4 separate regions of the Homo sapiens genome follow, and regions 1, 2 and 4 are each linked to region 3. The links are contacts of gene promoters, found by promoter capture Hi-C in blood cells and fetal thymus (Javierre and others, 2016). All regions are on one chromosome and are shown on one strand. The core of a region is centred on a gene start or on the middle of the fragment in contact, and the rest is flanking DNA. Distances in the headings are between cores, read along the strand shown. Region 1 holds the start of PANX1 (pannexin 1). Region 2 overlaps MED17 (mediator complex subunit 17). Region 3 holds the start of SLC36A4 (solute carrier family 36 member 4). Region 4 has its middle 14 kb from the start of MED17.

The links. Contacts are between HindIII fragments. The CHiCAGO score rates a contact against its expected background, and 5 or more counts as called.
Region 1: the fragment with the promoter of PANX1 here is called in contact with the fragment with the promoter of SLC36A4 in region 3 in 13 of 17 cell types (total CD4 T cells, total CD8 T cells, activated CD4 T cells and 10 more); the score reaches 12.8 in total CD4 T cells.
Region 2: a fragment that was not itself captured here is called in contact with the fragment with the promoter of SLC36A4 in region 3 in 1 of 17 cell types (M2 macrophages); the score reaches 5.8 in M2 macrophages.
Region 4: a contact is called between a fragment that was not itself captured here and the fragment with the promoter of SLC36A4 in region 3, in 2 of 17 cell types (M0 macrophages and M2 macrophages). The highest score is 7.2, in M0 macrophages.

What each region holds. Positions count from the first base shown.
Region 1 is chr11:94,127,178-94,132,709 of GRCh38, reverse strand. PANX1 (pannexin 1) reads right to left here and starts at 3,869. Exons shown (of 5, transcript NM_015368.4): 1 at 3,217-3,869. The coding sequence starts at 3,397. RefSeq lists enhancers at 3,297-3,556, 3,877-3,936 and a silencer at 3,577-3,646. The HindIII fragment of the contact is 7,489 bases long and covers 1-4,154 here.
Region 2 is chr11:93,808,075-93,813,481 of GRCh38, reverse strand. MED17 (mediator complex subunit 17) reads right to left here. Exons shown (of 12, transcript NM_004268.5): 11 at 3,606-3,765; 12 at 1-1,629. The coding sequence ends at 1,418. Among named protein-coding and RNA genes, the nearest start is that of MED17, 26 kb to the right of the region's middle. The HindIII fragment of the contact is 1,257 bases long and covers 703-1,959 here.
Region 3 is chr11:93,194,674-93,200,233 of GRCh38, reverse strand. SLC36A4 (solute carrier family 36 member 4) reads left to right here and starts at 2,243. Exons shown (of 11, transcript NM_152313.4): 1 at 2,243-2,456. The coding sequence starts at 2,402. RefSeq lists a silencer at 2,102-2,481. The HindIII fragment of the contact is 1,801 bases long and covers 1,626-3,426 here.
Region 4 is chr11:93,767,407-93,772,699 of GRCh38, reverse strand. No RefSeq gene overlaps it. Among named protein-coding and RNA genes, the nearest start is that of MED17, 14 kb to the left of the region's middle. The HindIII fragment of the contact is 822 bases long and covers 3,353-4,174 here.

The DNA of each region.
Region 1 (5,532 bases), core at 2,620-5,119, 930 kb before region 3:
AAAAGAGATGAATTCTTATATATACTAGTTTATCATACAGGTGGAAAAAGGAAAAACATGTAATTACAGCTGATTTTCTCGTTTCTAATTTTATACACACACACACCACCCCCCCAACACAAACAGGAAAACAATGGGATTTGCTATGCCTTCTTTCATGTGGAGCCCCTGGACCCTTACTTTGGCTCCCACCTCTCCATGTGACGGTGCCACTAAAGCTCCAGCAGCCACATGTTGTCTCACACGTCTCAGCTTCAGCCAACACTGCTCCACACACTTGGAATCCTGCCTCAGGGGCCAACTCTGCCCTGAAACTCTCACTGTTCATGAGTCAGAAGAAACCCCTCCTTCTGCCTTTCCACAGCATCAGGCTTTAGTACACACTTCTGACACTGCCCAGGTTCCATGAATCCTGCATTAGGAGGGTTATGCGTTCAACTTCTCTACTAGACCGTGCTTCCAGAGGAAAGATTCTTATGTCCTACGTGTGTCTGACACCCCATTGCCAAGGTACAGCATCATGCACATAACAATCAATTAGCAAGGTCTGATGATGCCAAAAGCTATCACCTTTAATTCACAACAAATGTTTATAGAGTAGTTTCAATCTCCATGCAAAACATGCATAGACAGGTTATAAAGCTCTGTGTTAAGTTCAACAAAAGAGTATTCCAAGCACCAGAGAGGGAAGCAGTAATTATCAACAGAGGAAGGATGAAGCCATGTTTTAAGTCTGCAGGCCTTATCTCAGTGTCTTCCCGGGGCCTGAGTTCACTGGCCAATATGGTGGGCAAAGTGCCAGCTCCATTTCAATTACTTCATTCTCCCTTTATTGCTGTTCTTTTTTTTGGTTTGTTTTTGGCTGAGTGCATACTACTAACTACACAAAATTAAATGCTGCATGACATGATCCCTCCCACTGTACCAACTCCATGTATTAATCTATGTACCTCTCCCCTCTTCTCAAAAGCCCTTCTTCTGGTTTTATCTAAATGTATACCTAATCTAATAGGTCTTCCCTGGTCCTGTTAGCTTCATCCCACATGTCTGTCCTCCCCTGGAACTCCTGAAAACACTTCAGAAAACATGGGAGTCTGCTTGACAGCTCCTCACCCAAGTGCCTGCCAACCTTCACCAGCCTGGAGCTCATAGCTCAACACCTGGCTGGGTGCTGAATTACACACAGCTGAATGACTTACCTGCTAACAGATACCTTCTAGTGCCCAACTGCATAGTAAACTGCCACAGGGCAGGGAGAGGGCAGGGCAAGAACAAGGTCTCAAAATCCTTTCCCATCTCCCTCAGCACACAACAGTGCTATGCACACAGCATGAGCTCAAACTCTTGCTAGTTAAAACCACTCCCAATACCCCAAAAATACCTCTCAGACAGCCCACCAATTTAGACGTATCTAAGGCATTACAGGTACAGGTGCCTTAGGAGTCCCTCTAGTACATGTGCTAGAGGTGGAGATTGGTCACAGAGGGTGACTAACTCCTTCCTCCTGCCTTTCTGTCCCAACCAGGTACCCAAGACTTGCACCTCCAAGACAGGGATCATGCCTCTTTTACTCCCGGGTCCTTGGAGGTCAGCACCGAGTTCAGCACACAGCCAGTACTGAAGGAGGAATTGACCAAAGGGAGAGATTATCTCCAGGACTCATGCTACTTGGTGGTTTTGCTTTCAGCTGGAAGCCTCAATCCACTGTCAAATGGAAACTTAAAGAACATCCCGATGACTATGCCTGCGCAAAGAGCAGGAAAACTAAAAACTATTTTCCACAATGAATTTGGCAACTTCCTGCCAAGCTGAACAACTTAGTGCTGCAGATTGCAAAATCACACTCATAGTCATTCTTTCCTAATCAACTATTCCCTCAACTTCACAATTCCCATCACCACCAACACCACACTCCACTCACCCAGACATACAACCTCCGCAGCACGTTTGACCAGTACTGCCGTTCATGGCCTATTAAATACTAGGTACTCAAGTGCTGCTTATTTACTCCTTGATCGCACAGCAATCACCCACCCATTTTCTTCCACTCTTCACACCCTCTGTGCACAAGACCTCAGCCGATGCCTTGCTCTCTGGCACCCAGCCCTCCAGGCCCCATCCTCTCACCTTCTTCCCAGACCCTAAATGCCACCATCATTCAACCAGTCTGTCCTCTGCTCAAACAATAACTTCACAGTTCTGAAACCATCAGCCTACACTCTTCTGTTCCAGGCTGACCCAGGCCCATATTCACTCTCAGACTCCAGGAACTCTGACTTATCCTCCTGCCTTGGCTAGGAGAGTCACTGTGTCTCTCTTTCCAGGAACATATAACATTCTCTGCCATCTCAAAACCTTAACAAAGGTCTTACTCCTTCTTGTCCAAATCCCACCCACCCTCTGACAAAAGTTTTCCCAAAGTCCAGCCGCACTGGGTCCTCTCTCTTCCCCTGCCACAGAACTGTATTTAACCCTCCTGCGCTACCTTCCTGTTGGTTCATAAACACTCTCTCCTGTGTGGAGAGTCAGAACAGCTGATGAGGAAGGTAAGGCACGTAGCCACGTGATCCTGCCCAAACCACCAGACTTTCCAATCTCACACAACTGTTATGAAGCTCAAATGATAATTTACAGGAAGGGGACTTGTTCATCTCACATTTGTAAGACCGTCCAAGTTGAGGATCCCTCTAATGCCTGCCAAGTGCAGATATTTCCTATCATTCACAACCCTAGAGAGCTAAGATCTCAGCAAATACCAATTATATGTAAGACACTGAAAGAACACACTTCTCATGGAGCACCGGTCTTCACATCCTCCATGTAGCCACTCAGGAACTTCTCTGGTGTAAAATTTTAGGCGGCTGGACAAATATGTAGGAGACAGGGGTGAAAAACGGGGACACAGCTATTCTTGGCAAATCTGGTGGCAAGGTGCCAGTTCTAAGGGTGGAACATAAACTATAAGCCACAGTCCGATCAGAGGGGCATGAGGAACAAAAGAACTGAGGAGTAGGGATGCGAGCAGAGTAGACCAGGGTACCAATGAAACACCTGGGCAAAGAACGCTTTGGACCATAAAACTGGGGCCACTGCCCTTCCTGACGCTCACGACCATCACAGCTGGGCGTACCCAGACTCGGGCCTGTGAGCCGTAAAATCGCAGCTCACCGGGCCAGACCGGGGCGGCCACTCCCCTCCGTCCTGGGCGAGGCTTACCAATCGAGATCTCCTGCGCGAAGGCCAGCGAGATGAGCAGCAGGGGCAGCCCCACCGCAATGCACGTGACCATCTTGTCCACAGCCAGCTCCAGTCGCAGCCCCTTGAACTTGGGCTCCGTGGGCTCCTTCAGCAAGAAATCCGAGAACACGTACTCCGTGGCCAGTTGAGCGATGGCCATGGCTGCGGCGCGCCAGGCTCGACCAGGAGGTCCGGGTACAGCCGGCGTCGGGAAAGCTGCGCGGCGCCTTCACCCAGTCACCGGCCGGGCGCGCGGCTTTCGCTTTCCCTTTGCCTGCTCCCGCATCCCGCCTGCCTTTGTGTCTCGGTGCCTCAGGCTCCCAGCGACTCCGCTGGGCTCTCGCGCTCGCTGCCTCCGCCGCCGGCGGGGCGGGGCGGGGCGGGAACCCGAGAGCTCCGCTTCCTGCGGTTCCACCCCGCACGCCCGTGCAAGTCCCCGGGCCGCGCGCGGCACTCGGATTCGCGCCTCTCCCGCGCACCCCCAGGCGCGGGAACCACGCGCGGAACAAAGCGCTTCCCTCTGGCCCTGCCCCTCCGCGCCGCCCTGGCTGCCGAAGCGGCCGCCGGGATAGCCCTGCGCTCACAGCCAGCTGCGCCGCGCTCTTCCGGAACCATGCGGGGAAACCAAGTACCCAGGGGCGTGGAGCTTCCGGAAGACGCGGTGACGCGGGGCGGGGTGGGCGCGGCTGCATTCCGCGCCCCTCGGGCCACTCTCTGACAAAGGGATTTTCCCACTGAGCGGCACCTTTGGAAATTCTCCCGTCCCTCCCTGCCGGATTCTCCTCACGTCCTGGCACCCGGGAGTTTTAAAATCATTTCTGCAAGCGACTCTTTCTGTGGATGGGATGGCCCCCTTTACGCCCCACCCCCAACATTTCCAACACGGTGAAATCGGGTTAGAAGGAGCTGCAAAAGCTTCAAAGAACAGTCAGTGCCATAAAAGGCCAATCGAGCGGTGTAGACCGACGGTGCCTTGCAGAGGGAGCGCTGGACCCTTCCAGGAGCTCCGCGTGAGAGGGTGGCGCGGAAACGGTAGTGAGTGTGGAGTTTCGAGGCCTGAGTAGCGCTGCTGGTCCCGTTTCTCTTTCCTCTGCCATCCCAATCAGAGCCTTGTTCCGGGAGCCAGCAGAGAGAGGGGGGCCTGCAGGTAGGTGGGTGTTGGGGCTGCAGAGAGCTGCTTCTGAACAGCTCATAGGAAGTGGATGATGGAAAGACAGGAGGAAATACTCTGACCAGTGTCCACGGAAATTAAGGCTGTTGAAGTAGAAATAATTTGATTTATTGGAAGCTAAATGTGAGGATCCACCCAAGAAGACTTACCAGCAAAGTTGGGCATGTTTCAAAATTTGTTACACGTTGGAAGGGTTTTAGAAGAAAGTTTAGGAAAAGGGAGGAGGACCCCTTATATCAGAGGTGGGATTTTTTTCATCGGAGGGTATGGTACACAGGTTACAGTCACTGGCTGCAGATGACAACATACAGGCTAAAATGTTTTGTGCACAAGAAAATCAAAGTTTATATGATTCAGAAACAAGTCAGTGTTCTTTTCAATGTCAGTATTTTACATACTAATCAGTACATCAGCAGTTTGAGGAACTGACAAAAGGATTTGAAGGACTCACAGTAAGATTTTTTACTCAGGGACAGGATCTAAGCCATGAATCATAAGACCTTTCTTAGATGGCTTAGTTTGGAAGCCCTGTCAAATGTGACATGTAGGTTATCACCAGTAACATTTGAAGCAGGCAGGACCTGCAAACATGAGGGCTCCTTGGGGCAGGGCTTGGCTCCCTTCTCTGTGGGTCCACAGATACAAGCCTCAACTCCCACATGTACCTCTCCACCCCAGCCTGGCCGCTAAACACACATCCAAGAGCGTATACAGCTCTCTCCGCGTAGATGGCTCATAGGGCTTCAAACTCATAACGGCCAGGACTTCAGTCTTCATCTTCCCCTTAAACCTGAACTCCATCTTCCCCATCTTACTAAATGTACCACCAGCCACCTGTGCACCCAAGTCGGAATCCTGGAGCACCATCTTCAACACTCCATTTCTCACAGCTGCCATAACCAATTTTCAAATTCTCTTGCTTCTCTCTCCTAAATATAGCAAATCTGACACCCCTCCACCTGCACTGCCAATACCCAATTCAACTCACCATCCTGTCTCCTAACCACATATAGGAAATATGTGAGACAGGGTCCCCCTCCATTCTCCTCTACAGCTGCCAGGATGAGCTTTTCAAAACTCCAGTCGGATCATCTTTTCTACTTAAAGTGTACATTGTTTTTAGC
Region 2 (5,407 bases), core at 82-2,581, 610 kb before region 3:
GACCAAGGCAAATTTTGCAGGCAACAATAATTTTTGAAGCACTCAAGATTTTTAAATAACTGCAAATTCATACCAATTATTTTAATTTCCATGGATAGAAAGATGCAAGATCTTGATCAGAAGGGGAAAAAAGCACAAAGTTGTTCTATCGTGGCCCACAAGCTCCATTTTTCTTTAATGAAAACACGGTGGAGAAATACAAAGGACTTTTATTACTGCACAGTCATCTTACAAATTGTTAAAGCAGGATGTCTGTTTTAAAAATTGAAAGCCTTACTTATAAGGAGAGCTTGCCTATATGATACTACTTTCAGTGTTACCAAAAGGCTTATGAGCCTAAATCTATCCTCATATTAATGGGCACACTTTAGGCACTTTTTCCAAGAAGTGCAAACCTGTTCCTTGGAAAAGATAACCCACTAATCCATTAGTTTTTTCGCTTTGAAAAAGCAGAGAGCTGATGGAAAGGCCTTAATTGGAGAAAGCAATCCAGGGCTGCTGGGTGGAGGCTGGAGAATCCCAGGTGGAAGGCTGGGCATGAGCCATACACTAGGTGTCTCAACTGGTGAGGTCAATCAAGTGGGAGAACAGACCAAAAAAACTTGAGGACGCCCTAAAGAGATAATCTGCCTCCTATTGCCTTCAGCTGTCCTTTCTGAGGATGTTCTTAAATTACCTATGTAGGTTAGACCCAGGAAAGCTTAAAGGAGACAACTGGAGGAAGAGGTTATCAATAATTTAGAGTAGGCTGGGCATGGTGGCTCACGCCTGTAATCCTAGCACTTTGGGAGGCAGAGGCAGGTAGATCACTTGAGCCGAGTTCGAAACCAGCCTGGGCAACATGGAAAAACCCTGTCTTTATAAAAAATACAAAAATTAGCCAGGCGTGGTTGTGCATGCCTGTGGTCCCAGCTACTCGGAAGGCTGAGACAGAAGGATCACCTAAGCCTGGGAGGTCAAGACTGCAGTGAACCATGATCACACCACTGCACTCCAGACTGGGCTACAGAGTGAGATACCATCTCAAAAAAAAAAAGTTTAGAAAGTATTTGGGGGGAAAAAAAGGTATTTGGAGATTTTTTTAAACCACATACTTTATTTGATGTCAACATCAAAGAAGGAATATTTTAAAAAGCACATAGAAACCCTTAAGTTAGTAATATTTTAAACTGCATGAAAAACATATTATTTTACATCTTGTCATACTGTATATACAACTGTACATAAACTTCTGCATTTCAAAGCACTTGTCATTTATAAAGTGAAAAGTTTGAAAGTGCTAAATAAACATTTCCTAATTATTATTTTTAAAAACAGCACTCTTTTGGAAGTTATCTCTTCTTTGTGCTTATAGTTGATCTGCAAACATTTCAAGTCAAAGTTTCTGGAAACTTCTTTAGGAAACATCTGGAAAAAATCATAGTAGACAAGGGCTAAGTGCAGACATAAGCAGCTCCATTTTATAAACAAAATTTCGACCTTCCATTTTATTCCACTGAACTTCTTTGAATGGCCCACGAAGATGACTCCATTTGTTATCTTGTAAAACATCACTTTTTGGAAGGTCTTTACATTGGTTACGAGGAAACTGAACCATAATCTTGCTGCCACTTTCAGGTCCATTACGAACTGTGGAGAAAAACCAAAATATCAATACACTCTAGTTTACCAAACTAGAAATAACAAGGATAAATCCCACAACTCCATTCTACTGTGAATACAAAAACTTTGTCTACCAACTTAAATATTCTTGTAAAAAAGTGCTTTTTCAGTTTCAACATGCAAGAGAAAAACTCTAACTTCTATATAAGAGGATGGTATAAATATTCATGAATTATTATTTGTACCACAAAGATTAAGCAAGGTGAGTTTTGACCTAGGAATGTCAAATGTCCTCTATAATTTCAGGAAATCATCTTTTTGTTTGTTTCCACATGCAGCACTGAAAAACACAAAGCTTTTTTTGGGAGGCGGTTAAAGACAAGGTCTCTCTATGTTGCCAGGGCTGGTCTCAAACTCCTGGGCTCAAGCAATCCTCCCACCTCAGCCTCCCAAAGTGCTGGGATTACAGGCGTGAGCCACCACGCCTAGTACACTCACCTATTTTTTTCAATACATTCATTTGATAAGGCAATCATTCAATGAATTGTTAATACATGCCTAATATGTAAAGAAACCTCAACCACTTAAAATCAGGACTGAAAGGGATGAAGGAAAGATTATTCTGAATTAAGAATTTCAGGTTTTAATGAGGTTTTAACTATTATTTGGGAAAGAGGAAAAGGGTATTTTGAAATTCCTAGCAATCAAGATCCAGCAATGACCAAGCTTGCAGATTCACAAGCTGTGATCCTGTGAGGAAATATTTCTAACTACCCACTCTTTCAAATACAGTCATGAGCTGCGTAACATTTCAGTCAACTGCTTTTGTTGTGTTACAACTGCCTATAGTATTCAGTACAGTAACATGCTGTACAGGTTTGTAGCCTAGGAGCAACAGGCTATGCCATGAAGCCTAGATGTGCATGTAGTAGGCTGTACCATCTAGGGCTGTGTAAGTGCACTCTATTATCATACGATGAAATCCTCTTAACAACACATTTCTCAGAACCTGTCCCTGTCATTATGCAACACATGACTGTATTTTTAAAGTAGTCAGAGCAGATATCAGAAACAAAGATCACACTAAAACCATAAGCGCTTCAAATGTAAATTTAAGCTATGTAATACTCATACAAGTGCCTATTAAAGTGCCCACTCGTAGAAGGTGCTTAATAAAATACTTCTCCTCGGCCGGGTGCGGTGGCTCACGCCTGTAATCCCAGCGCTTTGGGAGGCCGAGGCAGGCGGATCATCTGAGGTTAGCCGAGGCAGGCAGATCATCTGAGGTTAGGAGTTTGAGACCAGCCTGGCCAACATGGCAAAACCCCGTCTCTACTAAAAATACAAAAATTAGTTGGGTATGACGATGGGCACCTGTAGTCCCAGCTACTCGGGAGGCTGAGGCAGGAGAATCGCTTGAAACTGGGAGGCAGAGGTTGCAGTGAGCTGAGATCACGCCACTGAACTCCAGCCTGAGCGAAAGAGCGAGACTCCGTCTCAAAAATAAATAAATAGATAAAATAAAACAAAACACTTTATTTAAAATTATTTTTAATTATTTATTTTAGAATATTTTAAAAACTGTTACTATTTTTTTAATGTGAAAAAAGTAGTACCTTGCATTAGATATTCCTCTCTGTTCCATCCCTTTACTATTTTTAGGATCAGATATTTTTCTTCCCATGTTTACAGCAGTATATATTTTTTTTAAAGTTTTTATCCATTAAACTTTGGGACTGCAGGAGTAACAATGCTGATGATACTTTTCAGACTATCTCAGGAAAATGTGCTGCCAATCTAAACATTTATTATAATTACTAGAAAGAGAAATAATAATCTCTTGCTCTGCATAATAGCTATGATCAAATAAACATTCGGTGTAAATACAACATTAACTAATTTATTGCAGAGATAAATTACTCTTACCCATATTTAATTATTAAAACTAAATGTTAAAGCCAAACTCCCAATGGTCCCTTCTCATTCAAAGCAGCAGAAAGTACCTGAAATAGCATAGTCACCACTTGGGGAGGCCACCGTGATGGCAGATGCATTACCAATGCTCTCTATAGGTCCAAGTCCCACATGATTACTGAAGCTCAGTACTTGCCAGCCCATAACCTTGGCGAGTTGCTGAACTGCATGTACCTGGTGCTGTGACATCTGTGAATGAAAAAGGACACTTGACTGACAGTCAGCAGAGATATCTGCAGTGACTTAACATCACGACCATGAAGTAAACTTTTGTTGGGGTGCTCACTGACTACTACAGCAACCCTATCTTAGGTCTGAGGAATCCTCCTGTGCGTAACTTAGGGGGAGGGAATAGGACTCCACCTTCCACTGCCAAAGCTAAAGTTGCCTGATACTTGCTTCTCCTGCCCACTGGCAGCTTAAGCAAAGACATATGACATAAATTTGGCCAACTGAAGACTCTCATCTAGATCACTGAATATGGTGTAACATTTGCCCCTTCAAATCCACTGCCTACCTTATTTTCTGCCCTGGGAGGCTGACACACGTGGTTACATTAATACCTTCTTACATCCTCTGGCTTTGGGCTGGGTTCAGGTAATGGGAGACAGCAGGATGGCAGGGAAGAGTGAGGTCAGGGTATTTATTCCCCTGGCACCCTCCCTGTGAGGTTGTCTAGGCTGGTTGTATCTCTTGACTGGCTGCTAGGCTTCTCAAGATGGACTGTTCTACACGACTCTCCCCCTTAGGGTTCTTGTAATCTGTCCTTCCTCTTAACTTTGGCCTAGGAATGGTGACCACTAAGTCCCTGGGGCCTGGTTACCTGGTTACTACTACTAGCAGCAGGTTACCACACTATCCCTGGTGGCTCACCTACACCCACTTCTTTGTAAATAGATCTTTAGATCCTCCTGAGTCTGCCACCTATTTCTTGTTAAGACTCTGACTGATACAATGGGGGCAATTTAGAATGCATTTTGTCACCAGTGCTGAAGGCAGTAGTGCTGGGACAGCATGAGTGCCATTCCTCTGGCCATGGTTCTCATACCTAGCTTTGATCCCTATCCATTTGCAAGCCTTGTTCTCTAGACCTCCCATTGATTCTGGGACCTACTCAATAGTGTTCTAATATATTTTTGTGTGTGTGCTTAAAGTAACCAAAGCCAATTTAGATGTAATCAGCCAAGAGCTGCCATACCTAACAAATGAATTTTACTTACTTGGCCACCAAAGAAGCAAATCAGTATATAAGATTATTGCTTCTGAGATATAGGGTAGGTTTTTGAAATGCTAATGCAAGATACTATTTTTTTTAATGTGAAAAAAAAATAGTATCTTGCATTAGCATTTCAAAAACCTACCCTATATCTCACAATTCAGTATTTCACTGGGTCATTAAAAACTCCATGAAGAAATTAGGGAAAATACAGTTAGATATGAAAAGAAAGGGCTAGAAATTTGTCTGATGTCACAAAGCAAGTTTGTCGTAGAGCTGGGACTAGAACACATCACCTTTTTTTTTTTTTTTTTTTTTTTAAAAAGAGATGGTATCTTGCTCTGTCACCCTGGGCTGAAGTACAGTGGGACCAATTATAGCTCATTGTAACCTTGAACACCCAGGCTCAGGCAACCCTCCTGCCTCGGCCTCCCTAATAGCTATGACTATAGGTACATACCAACACACCCACTCAATTTTCTATTTTTGTGGAGACAGGGGTCTTGCTATGTTGCCCAGGCTGGTATTGAACTCCCAACCTGAAGTGATACTCTCGCTTCAGCCTCCCAAAGTGCTGGGATTATAGGCGCAAACCACCATACCCAGCCTCAAACC
Region 3 (5,560 bases), core at 994-3,493:
CCTGTTATTTTCCTAACCAACAATTGTAATGACATATTTAGTATTTTGTTTTGTTCTGTTCTGTCACATGCTATATACTATGAACTCCATGACAGTAGGGACCATACCAACATTATTTGCCCTTCTAGCCCCAGCATCTAGCATACTTCCTGATATATGGAAGGTGCTCCGTAAAATGTGCTTGAATACATTAAAGACTTCTAAATGTTTCCTTTCATATACCTATGAGGCTATATTCAGTAACTTTCAACAACTGTTCATTGAGTGACTGGTATTTGTAAGTCACTGTGCTAGGCCTGTTTGGACAAAGACAAATACAGTTAATTCCTCAACAGGCCTAGCACAGTGCCTTGCACATAATAGTATACAGCATAGTATAAAGCCCAGAAAGAGGAATAATTATAAGTGGAGAAGTGTTGTAACAGAGATACGAACAAAGTGCTGCAGTTGCAAAGAAGGAAGTAGTTAAGATGTGATGCAAGAAGTTAAAGTCAGGAAAAGAAATGAATTTCCAGGGTTCAAATTGTCACATTCTGTATAATGTCTCTATTTTGATACAGCTGTACTTTATATCTGCTTCTAATTTATAAGACCTGGAGTAGAAGTCCTAGTAAATATGTTCTCAAGTAGAGATGCATGAAAAACATATTTCTCTTGAATCTTATGATCATTGTTATCACTTGCTTTATCTCCACATCACTGTAAAGACATTGGGCCTCCTACCTCAGCCCAACCCTCTTCAAAAGATTTCAGGCCTATACTACAAGTCAAACTTTTCTTCCTTCCATATTGCCAGATCTGCTTTCCCTGAAGCTGAGATTAGGGGACAATGACTTTTGATCCCTTTTAACTCTCAAAGGATAATGTTCTTTTAAGATGCTGTCCCACATGTTCTCATTATAATGAGTGGTTTATGGAAAATTACCTTGGTCCTATAATTTCTGTCTGATGCCTATCTTCTCTCCTGCTGATCTTTAACCAGGTGATCCACCCCAACACAGGTTAGGGAACATTGCTCTAGCTATGTTCCAGAATAGATTTCTTCTTCTTCTTCTTTTTTAAAAAAAATCTCCTTTACCCCTTTATTTGTCAGGAACACTTCAAATAAAACCTTCTTTTGGGATTTGCATGTGTATGTATGTGAACAAATTGGGTTCACTTAAAGGAAAAGAAAGGGGGTTGGCAAACTGTCATTATCACTAGTTATCTAGTGAAAGCCTACAGAGGATGCAACAGGAGGAAAGATGTAGATAGTATGTAACTGCGTACCTTTTTAATCTCAGAATTTTAAATATTTAACACCATTGCCATATAGTTACATCAGTGACTGTTAATCAGACCCACTCCCCCCCAAAAAAACCCTTTCCTAAAGCAACCCCACTGAATGAAACGGACACAAATAAAAAGGATTGTCTGGTGTACTGACTTCCAAGAACTATGAAGTGAAAAAAAAAAGAAAGCGATTTTAAAATTAAAATAAATATTTTCCTTTTAAACCAAAAGCTTGCTTCATCCATTGATTCATCGAATATTCATTGGTACCCATCTGGGAGGCCAGCTTTGCATATTTTTCGAGAGCTCCAGCTCTGAAGGCAGAAGGATTCTACTTCTGCCATGTACAAGCTTCCTGTCCCCAGACACGTTACTTACCTCCGTGCCTTAATCCCTTCATCTTTAGCGTTAATGTAAATATTAGAATTATCTCACAAATTGTAGTCAGAATTAAAGATAATGTATGTATGGTGCTTAGGAGTACTTGAAACTACATCAGTACACTTAGTCTTTACCTTAATTTTCTTTCAGCACCACGGTCAACGTCAAATATCTGGAAGGACATTGAAATATCCTGAAAGTGAAATTGTATATGACTTAATTAAATTCTATTTAAGTGTCTCCTGTAACTCTAACTATAGAAACAGGGAGACGAATAACCAGAGTAGTCAGAACCTCAGCATGGGTAGGGGACAAATCCCGTCCTTCTTCGCATTCTCCAAGGTGACTTACAGAACGCTAACGCCTTGCATACGGACAGGCGCCCCAAATTTAAGTTCGCCGTCATCTTTAAAACCCCCAGGGAGCTATGGGCCCGGGTCTCGGCTAGCTCTAAGGTCCCACCCTCGCTGATCTCAGGTTACCCAACCCTCCTCTCGGGTTACCCAACCCGGCCTCGCAGCAGTCCTCGGGTCTTCGGCCCCTCCCGCCCCTCGCCGGCGGTGCCCGCCGAGCCGGGCTGTCCCACTGCGCATGCTCCTCGCCGCGCGGTTGGGGAGCGCCGGGGCAGGGAGGCGGGCACCAGGCGCGGGTCCCTCCGGGCAGGGGAGGTAGGCCTGGGCCTGACGCCGGCCACGCAGCGGCGGGAGAGTGAGCACTCGGGCGGCGGCGTCCTGGAGACCCGCGAGAGATGGAAGCGGCGGCGACGCCGGCGGCTGCCGGGGCGGCGAGGCGCGAGGAGCTAGGTCGGTGTTGTGCGTGGGCAGGGAGCCGGGGCTGACGTGGGCGGGGGTCTGTGCGGGAGTCGGGTGCGCCCACACCTCCAGGGGCCCCGCGCTTGGCCTGAGTTGAGGCCCGATTGCTAACTGACCCCGTGGTCAGCATCCGCAAAGGAACCGGTTATCTGACCCCGAGAACTTGGTCAGACGAAGCCCAGGCCTGAATAGGGCGTTAAAATATGTGTGTGTGTGTTTGCGCGCGCGCGTGTGGGTGAGTGTGTGTGTTGAGTGGGGCGGGGCCCTGTGGGTACACGTCAAAGACGCAAGAGCCTGCGCCGTGACTCACGGTTTTTTTCCCAATGATGCTTTAAGGAAGTTATCATTGTTCTGCTTTTCAAATGCTGCAGCCCCATTCGGAATCTCCAGATGAATCCTCATTTTACTCCTTGTTATCCCAGAGTTTCGAACAGGTCGTGCTGACCAGAATGAACAGGAGATACCTGTAGCTTGCTCACTTGGCAAAGTTTGTTTGTTTTTTGCTGCTTTCCTCCCATCTTGTTTCTTGGCGACAGGGCGTGTTTGTTTACGGTTTCCCGCTGTCCAAAATAAAAAAGTAAGGATCAGGGTGGTAAAATGATCGCTCTCCCAGTTATACGTACTGTACTTGGGAGTATTTTTCATTCGATGCTGATTAAATGTAATTAAAAAATTAAATCTAAATGGAATCTTCAAGAAAACCGTTGAACTTTAAAAAATACCGTATTATAAGTAACTGATAGGTTGTTGTTATTCCTCTAATAGCCTGCAGGGCACTTTGCAATGGAATTGTTTTCAGGCCGTAATAATGGTAGAAACAATAAACTTAACATTTTATTGCGTGCTTACTGTGTGCAAACACTGTGCTAAGTGCTTTACCTATGCATTGTCTTTAATCCTCACAGCAACTGAGATAGGTGCTATCATGATTTCCATTTTATAGATACAGTAATTTTAAGCTTATTAATGGCAGAACCCAAATGTGAACTCAGGTTTCATTCATTAATAACCTGTCTTAGTGAGGATATGGAGAAATGGGTATTCTCATGCATTGCTGGCAGGAAAGGGATAATATATTTAGCCTTAAAAATGTACATATCGGCCTGGCGCGGTGGCTCACGCCTGTAATCCCAGCACTTTGGGAGGCTGAGGCGGCCGGATCATCACAAGGTCAGGAGATGGAGACCATCCTGGCTAACACGGTGAAACCCCGTCTCTACTAAAAACACAAAAAATTAGCCGGGCGTGGTGGCGGGCGCCTGTAGTCCCAGCTACTCGGGTGGCTGAGGCAGGAGAATGGCGTGAACCCGGGAGGCGGAGCTTGCCGTGAGCCGAGATCGTGCCACTGCACTCCAGCCTGGGCAACAGAGCGAGACTCTGTCTCAAAAAAAAAAAGTGCTTATCGTTTGACCCAGCAATTCTCCTTCAGAATATTTCCCGAGGAAATAAGTAATGTAACCCATACTTATATCAAGAGGTTTTCATTATAGTATATAGAGAAAAGCTGTTAACTAAAGTACAATGAAAGGAAATTGGTTAAATTGTGGTATAGTTTTACATTGCCTACCATTAAAAGTGATGTGGAAAGATGTTCAGCATGTACATTTTCTTTAACTGAAAAAAAGTTTCAAATTATTTCAGTTTTTTTAAGTTTTATATTTTCATTAATTCAACACATATTCATTGAGCTTCCCCTAGGCACTTGAGATACATCGTGAGCAAAACAGATAAAAATTCCTGTTCTTAATGGAGCTTGTATTTAGTAATGGGAAGCAGAGAGTAAGCAGTAAAGACAATAACCAGTTAATTATATAGTATGTTAGGTGAAAAGTGCTATGGAAAACAAGAGCAGGGTAAGGGAAATCAGGAATGAGGGTGGGGGCTAGGCAGTTTACAGTATTTTATAAAATGGTTGGGATGGGCCTTATTGAAAAGGTACAATTTGAGTAAAGACCTGGAAGAGGTAAGGAAATTAGCCAAATGGATATCTGGGGAACGACTACTCCAGGCAGAAAGAATAACTAAAGGAATAGCAAGGAGGACAAAGTGGCTGAAGCAGAGTGATGGAGGTGGCGATGGGGCCAAATTATGTAGGGTCTTGTAGGTAATGTAAACTGTGACTTTTACCCTGAGGGAAGGGGAGAACAATGCAGGGTTTGAACAGAGGAGTGTCATGATCTGCCTTGTTTTAAAAGGATTGCATTGACTGCCATGTGACGAATAAACTGTAAGGGGGCAAAAGTAAAAGCAGAAGAATATTTCAGTAATTCAGGAAAGATATGGGTGTCCTTCAGAGCAGTATGGTAGTGGCAGTGGAGGTGAATAGACATAGTTAGTCTCTAGGTATATTTTGAAAGAACCAGTGTGATTTCCTGACAGAATGGGTGAGGGTTAGAGAGTAAAACGGAGGAGACATGGAAGACTCCAGGGACCTGAGTATCTAGAAGAATGAAATTGTTATTAACTGGGATATTATGGTGGTTTTGTAATATACCTACAGAGTCTTTGATGTTTTTCTCTTAAGTAGGAGAAACTTAATTTCCTTCTCTTCAAGTGGGGGCTGGACTTAGTAACTTGTGTCTAATGAATAGATTATGGTAGAAGTGATGATGTATGACTTCAATACTAGATAATAAAGTGCATTGTGCCTTCCTCCTTGCCTTCTCTTTTTGAATCACTCACTTGAAGGGAAGCCAGCTGTCATGTTGTGAGGAGACTCAAGCAGCCCTAAGGAAAGCTCCATGTTGCACAAAACTGAGGGCTCCGGACAATAGCCATAAATTGTTATACAGCAATAGATAACTAATACAAATGGGTAAAGTTGCAGGAATAGCAGGCTTGCTGGTGAAGACCAGTTCAGTTTGGGGCATGTTAAGTTTGAGATGTCCATTAGATATCAAAGTGCACATGTCAAGTAGGCAATTGGATTTTATGTCTAGCATTAGTGAAAGGTCTGGTCTGGAAATGTAAATTTGGATGTTATCAGCATATAGATAGTATTTAAAGCTAGGAGACAGAATGAGAACATAATGAGAGTTGTTTGTGTGTATGTGTGTGTGCCTGTGAACATGTACTCTAAAATGTTAACAGTAGTA
Region 4 (5,293 bases), core at 2,514-5,013, 570 kb before region 3:
CTAATGCTCATTGAAGCTCCTTTTCATCTTGCTCACCTTTCACTTGTCTGCATACCTCATTCTTCCTGGTTGCAGGACAAGAACTTGGGACTCGCTGAAAGGCAAGACTAAAAGAGCTGTAACACAAACAGGGCTGAAACATGCCCCTTGCTCACCACATTGTGGGTGGAGAGAAGAAGAGCGGCAGCCCTTTGGGGAGGCCAGACCTGGAAACTCCCTGAGCCAGGGCTGTGACTCCCTCTTTGAGGCCCTGCAGTTTCTGATGTCTCCAAGCTTCCGGACACCACCGCATTCCCCAATGCCAGCTGGGGAAGCAGCTTGTAGTGCACCTGGTGCAGCCAGCATGTCTGACTGTGCAGTGGCTGGATCCCATACTTGCTCAGATACCCCTCACCTCTCCATGCCTGACTCACAGTCTTTCTTGGAGGCATGGGATCCCAGCCAGTAGCATGAGCTGAGCACAGCCTGCCAGGCTGAATGGGTGGAATGAGTCCAGTGTGCCTGAACAAAGCTCAAGCAAAGGCACTACCAGCCACAGGTTTCCAGCCAGAAAAGTGACACCCCAAAGATCCCGTAACAAAACTCCTGGGCTTAAGCAATCCTCCCACCTGGGCCTTCCAAAGTGCTGGGCCTACTGGCATAAGCCACCATGCCCAGCCCATTGTTTAATTTTCAACTGTTCTGAAAGGGATGCTTTTTTTCATGCAAAGTTCTATATTTTGTAATTGTGTGGGAAACAGGTTGTTGTGCTAAGTCTTGGTGCTGGCCAAGGCTTATTCCATCTTGGCCAGCACCAGAAGTTCAAATTCATGTTTGTTTGTTTGTGTTTTTGTTTTTTTTTAAAGATGAGGTACATTAGTCAGAGTTTTCTAGAGAGACAGAATAGGATAGATGTATATATGAAGGGGAGTTTATAAAGGAGTATTGACTCACACAATCACAAGGTGAAGTCTCATAATAGGCCGTCTGCAAGCTGAGGAGCAATGAAGTCAGTCTGACTCCCAAAACCTCAAAAGTAGGGAAGCTGATGGTGCATCCTTCAGCCTGTGGCCAAAGGCCCAAGAGCCCCTGGAAAACCACTGGTGTAAGTACAAGAGTCCAAAAGCTGAAGAATTTGGAGTCTGATGTTTGAGATCAGGAAGCATCCATCACGGGAGAAAGATAAAGGGTGGAAGACTCAGCAAGTCAGCTTCTCCCACCTTCTTTTGCCTGCTTTTTTTCTAGCTGCACTGGCAGTTGATTGGACGGTGCCCACCCACATTGAGGGTGAGTCTGCCTTTCCCAGGCCACTGACTCAAATGTTAATCTCCTTTGGCAACACCCTCACAGACACATTGAGGAACAATACGTTGCATCTTTCAATCCAATCACGTTGACAGTATCAACCATCACACAAGGTCTCACTCTGGTCACCCAGACTGGAGTGCAATGGCAGGATCTCAGCTCGTTGCAGCCTTTGCCTCCTGGGCTCAAGCGATCCTCCAGCCTCAGCCTTCTAAGTAGCTGGGACTACAGGCATGCACTACCACATCTGGCTATTTTTTTGTGTTTTCGGTAGAGACAGAGTTTCTCCATGTTGCCCAGGCTGATCTCGAACTCCTGGGTTTAACAGATCTGCCCACCTCAGCCTCCCAGAGTGCTGGGATTACAGGTGTGAGCCACTGTGCCTGGCCCATGTATTCTTTAGTAAATTTCTCTTGTTATGATATTCAGTTTCCTTTAACATGTTGTTAAAAGAAAAATTTTAGACAAATTAAACGGAGCTTAATTGAACAAAGAACAATTCTTGAATTGGGCAACCCCCAGAACAGAATAGGTCCAGAAGTGACTCCAGTGCTGCCAGATGGTTGGAGAGGATTTAAGGACAGAAAAAGGAAAGTGGCCTACACAAAATGGAAGGGAGGTACAGGAACAGCTGGATTGGTTACAGCTCAGCATTTGCCTTATTTGAAGGTGGTTCGAACAGTTGGCCGCCTGTGAGTGGTTGGAGTATGGCTGCTGTGATTGGTTGAGACTTGGCTACTTGTTACAAGAGTAACAGTCTGTGAACCCAAAATATCTGAGACAGGTCTCAGTCAATTTAGAAAGTTTAATTTGCCAAGGTTAAGGATGCACTGTGACATAGCCTCAGGAGGTCCTGACAACATGTGCCCAGGATGATCAGAGCACACGTTGGTTTTATACATTTTAGGGAGACATGAGACATCAATTAATCTGTGTAAGATACACATTGGTTCCCTCAGATAAGGCAGGACAACTCTATGTGGGGACTTCCAGGTTAGAAGTAGATAAGAGATAAAAGGAAAAGGTTGCATTCTTTTGAGTCCTTGATCAGCCTTCCACTGAATACACAATTTAGTCTGGCTCAGTGACTGTGCATATTGTTTTTACATAAACAATAGGGCAGAGAAAACAATCAGATATGCATTTGTCTCAGGTGAGCCTCAGAGGGATGACTTTGAGTTCTGTCTGTCCTTTGTCCACAAGGTATTGTGGACAATTGTGAGGGAGGTATATAGCTTCTTCTCTTTGTAGCTGTCTTATTTAGGAATAAAATGGGAGGCAGGTGTCTGACATAGTTCCCAGCTTGACTTTTCTTTTGGCTTAGTGATTTTGGGGTTCCAAGATTTATTTTCCTTTCACAAGTCCATTTACACATCCAGTTAGATTACATTTCACTAGGTATGGAGAAACTTTTAGGCCAAACTTAAAATATGTAAGGAGGCAGCTTTTAGGCTAAACTTAATTTAACAGTGTACAGTACAATATAGGGCAATACTGGCCGGGTGCAGTGGCTCACGCCTGTAATCCAAGCACTTTGGGAGGCTGAGGCAGGCGGATTACCTGAGGTCAGGAGTTCGAGACCAGCCTGGCCAACATGGCAAAACCCCGTCTCCACTAAAAATACAAAAATTAGCTGGGCCTGGTGGTGTATGCCTGTAGTCCCAGCTACTCCAGAGGCCAAGACAGGAGGATCACTTGAACCTGGGAGGCGGAGATTGCAGTGAGCCAGGATTGCACCATTGCACTCCAGCCTGGGCAATGGAGTAAGACTCCATCTCAAAAGACAAAAAACAAACAAAAAACAATATAGGGCAATACTGATAGGATTTATTCTATTTTATTTCAATTATTTTTTCACCTGAGTTGGGGCTTAGAAAACAAAATTGTAAAATATAGCACTTTGGCATGCTGAATGTTTTGAATTAAGGAATATTAAAAGGTCTCAGAAATAAGCCTCAGAACCAAGGGATCTCTCTGACCTTCCTCAGCTTCCCCATCTCTCTGATCTTCTTCCTTTTCTGAAGCTTCTGGAAGGACTCTGGAACTTCCTTTTGTGAGCAGGGAAGCTTCTTTCCAAAAAAAAAAAAAAAAAAAGCAGTGAATCCCCTCTCTAGGAATCTCATCAAATAACCAGAACAGGTTAACCACCAAAAAGATGACACTGGGAGTTGTCACCATGTCCAGGCAGGCTTTTTTTTTTTTTTTTTTGAGACAGAGTCTCACTCTGTCACCCAGGCTGGAGTGCAGTGGCATGATCTCAGCTCACTGCAACTTCTGCCTCCCACGTTCAAGTGATTCTTCTGCCTCAGCCTCCGGAGTAGCTGAAATTACAGGTGCCTGCCACCATGCCTGGTTAATTTTTGTATTTTTAGTAAAGATGGGGTTTCTCCATGTTGGCCAGGCTGGTCTCAAACTCCTGACCTCAGGTGATCCACCCGCCTCGGCCTCCCAAAGTGCTGGAATTACAGGCATGAGCCACCGTGCCCGATCTGGATTTTTCATTTATTCTTGTGAGTGCAGCTCCACGAGGATTACCTGGGAGACATTATCTATGTAAGATAACCTTTGCTCACAGTAAAGTTCTGCCCCTCATCTTCCTGCCACCTCCCCCAGAGTTCAAAATAACTTTCTTCCAGGCCATTGTTCTTGGAGCTCATTCATTTTCCCTAAAAATCTTTTACTCCTATACCCCCGTGCCCACCATCTCCCCTTCCTCTATGAAGAAGGGTATATAAACATCTGGACCTCATTGGATTATTGAGTAGTCATTCTCCTGAGGTTCCCTCATGCTTATGCACACTAAATAAAGTTTGTATGCCGTTTTCTCCTGTTAGTCTGCTTTTTGTCAGTTTATTTTCAATGAGCCTTCAGAAAGAGTGAAAGGGAAGCTTGGTCTTCTCCTCTATGCATGTCAGTGTCCCCACTAGACCAAGCTCTTCCAGGTCAGGGACTATGTCTTATTCATCTTTGTATTCCTAGTACCTGGCACAGTATGTACCAGTACAATATGTACCATATATACCAGTAGAGTACATACTACTATATACTAATACCACTACAGCATGTACCAGAGCACCTAGTATAGTATGTAATAGTAAATTGCTACTGAATGAAAGATTAGGCCACACAGAGGCTTTACAGGTAAACTAAAAGGAAGCTGAGCTTTAAAACCAAAAGCAAATGGAAATCTGCATTTCGGTGTTGTATCAGTCTGTTCTCGCATGCTGTAAAGACATACCTGAGACAGGGTAATTTATAAAAAAGGTTTAATGGGCTCATGATTCTGCAGGTTATACAGGCTTCTGCTTCTGGGGAGGCCTCAGGAAACTTACAATCATGGGGCAAAGGCAAAGGGAAGCAGGCAGGATGGGAACAGTGGCTCATGTCTGTACCCAGAATTTTGGGAGGCTGAAGTGGGAGGAGCACTTGAGTCCAGGAGTTCGAGACCAGGCTGGGCAATGTGATGAAACCCTGCCTCTAAAATAAAAAAATAAAATAAAATAAAATAAAAATTAGCTGGGTGTGGCATGTGCCTGTAGTCCCAGCTACTCTGGAGGCTAAGGTGGGAGGATGGTTTGAGCCTGGGAGGCAGAGGTTGCAGTGAGCTGAGATCATGCCATTGCACTCTAGCCTGGGTAACAGAGCCATACCCTCTCTCAAAAAAAAAAAAAAAAAAAGGAAAAAGAAAGAAAAAAAAATTTTTTTTTTAAGACGGAGTCTCACTCTGTCGCCCAGGCTGGAGTGCAGTGGCGCGATCTCGGCTCACTGCAAGCTCCACCTCCCAGGTTCACTCCATTCTCCTGCCTTAACCTCCCTAGTAGCTGGGACTACAGGTGCCCACCACCACACCTGGCTAATTTTTTGTATTTTTAGTAGAGATGGGGTTTCACCATGTTAGCCAGGATGGTCTCGATCTCCTGACCTCGTGATCTGCCCACCTCGGCCTCCCAAAGTGCTGGGATTCCAGGCATGAGCCACTGCAAAGGGGAGGCAGGCACATCTTCACATG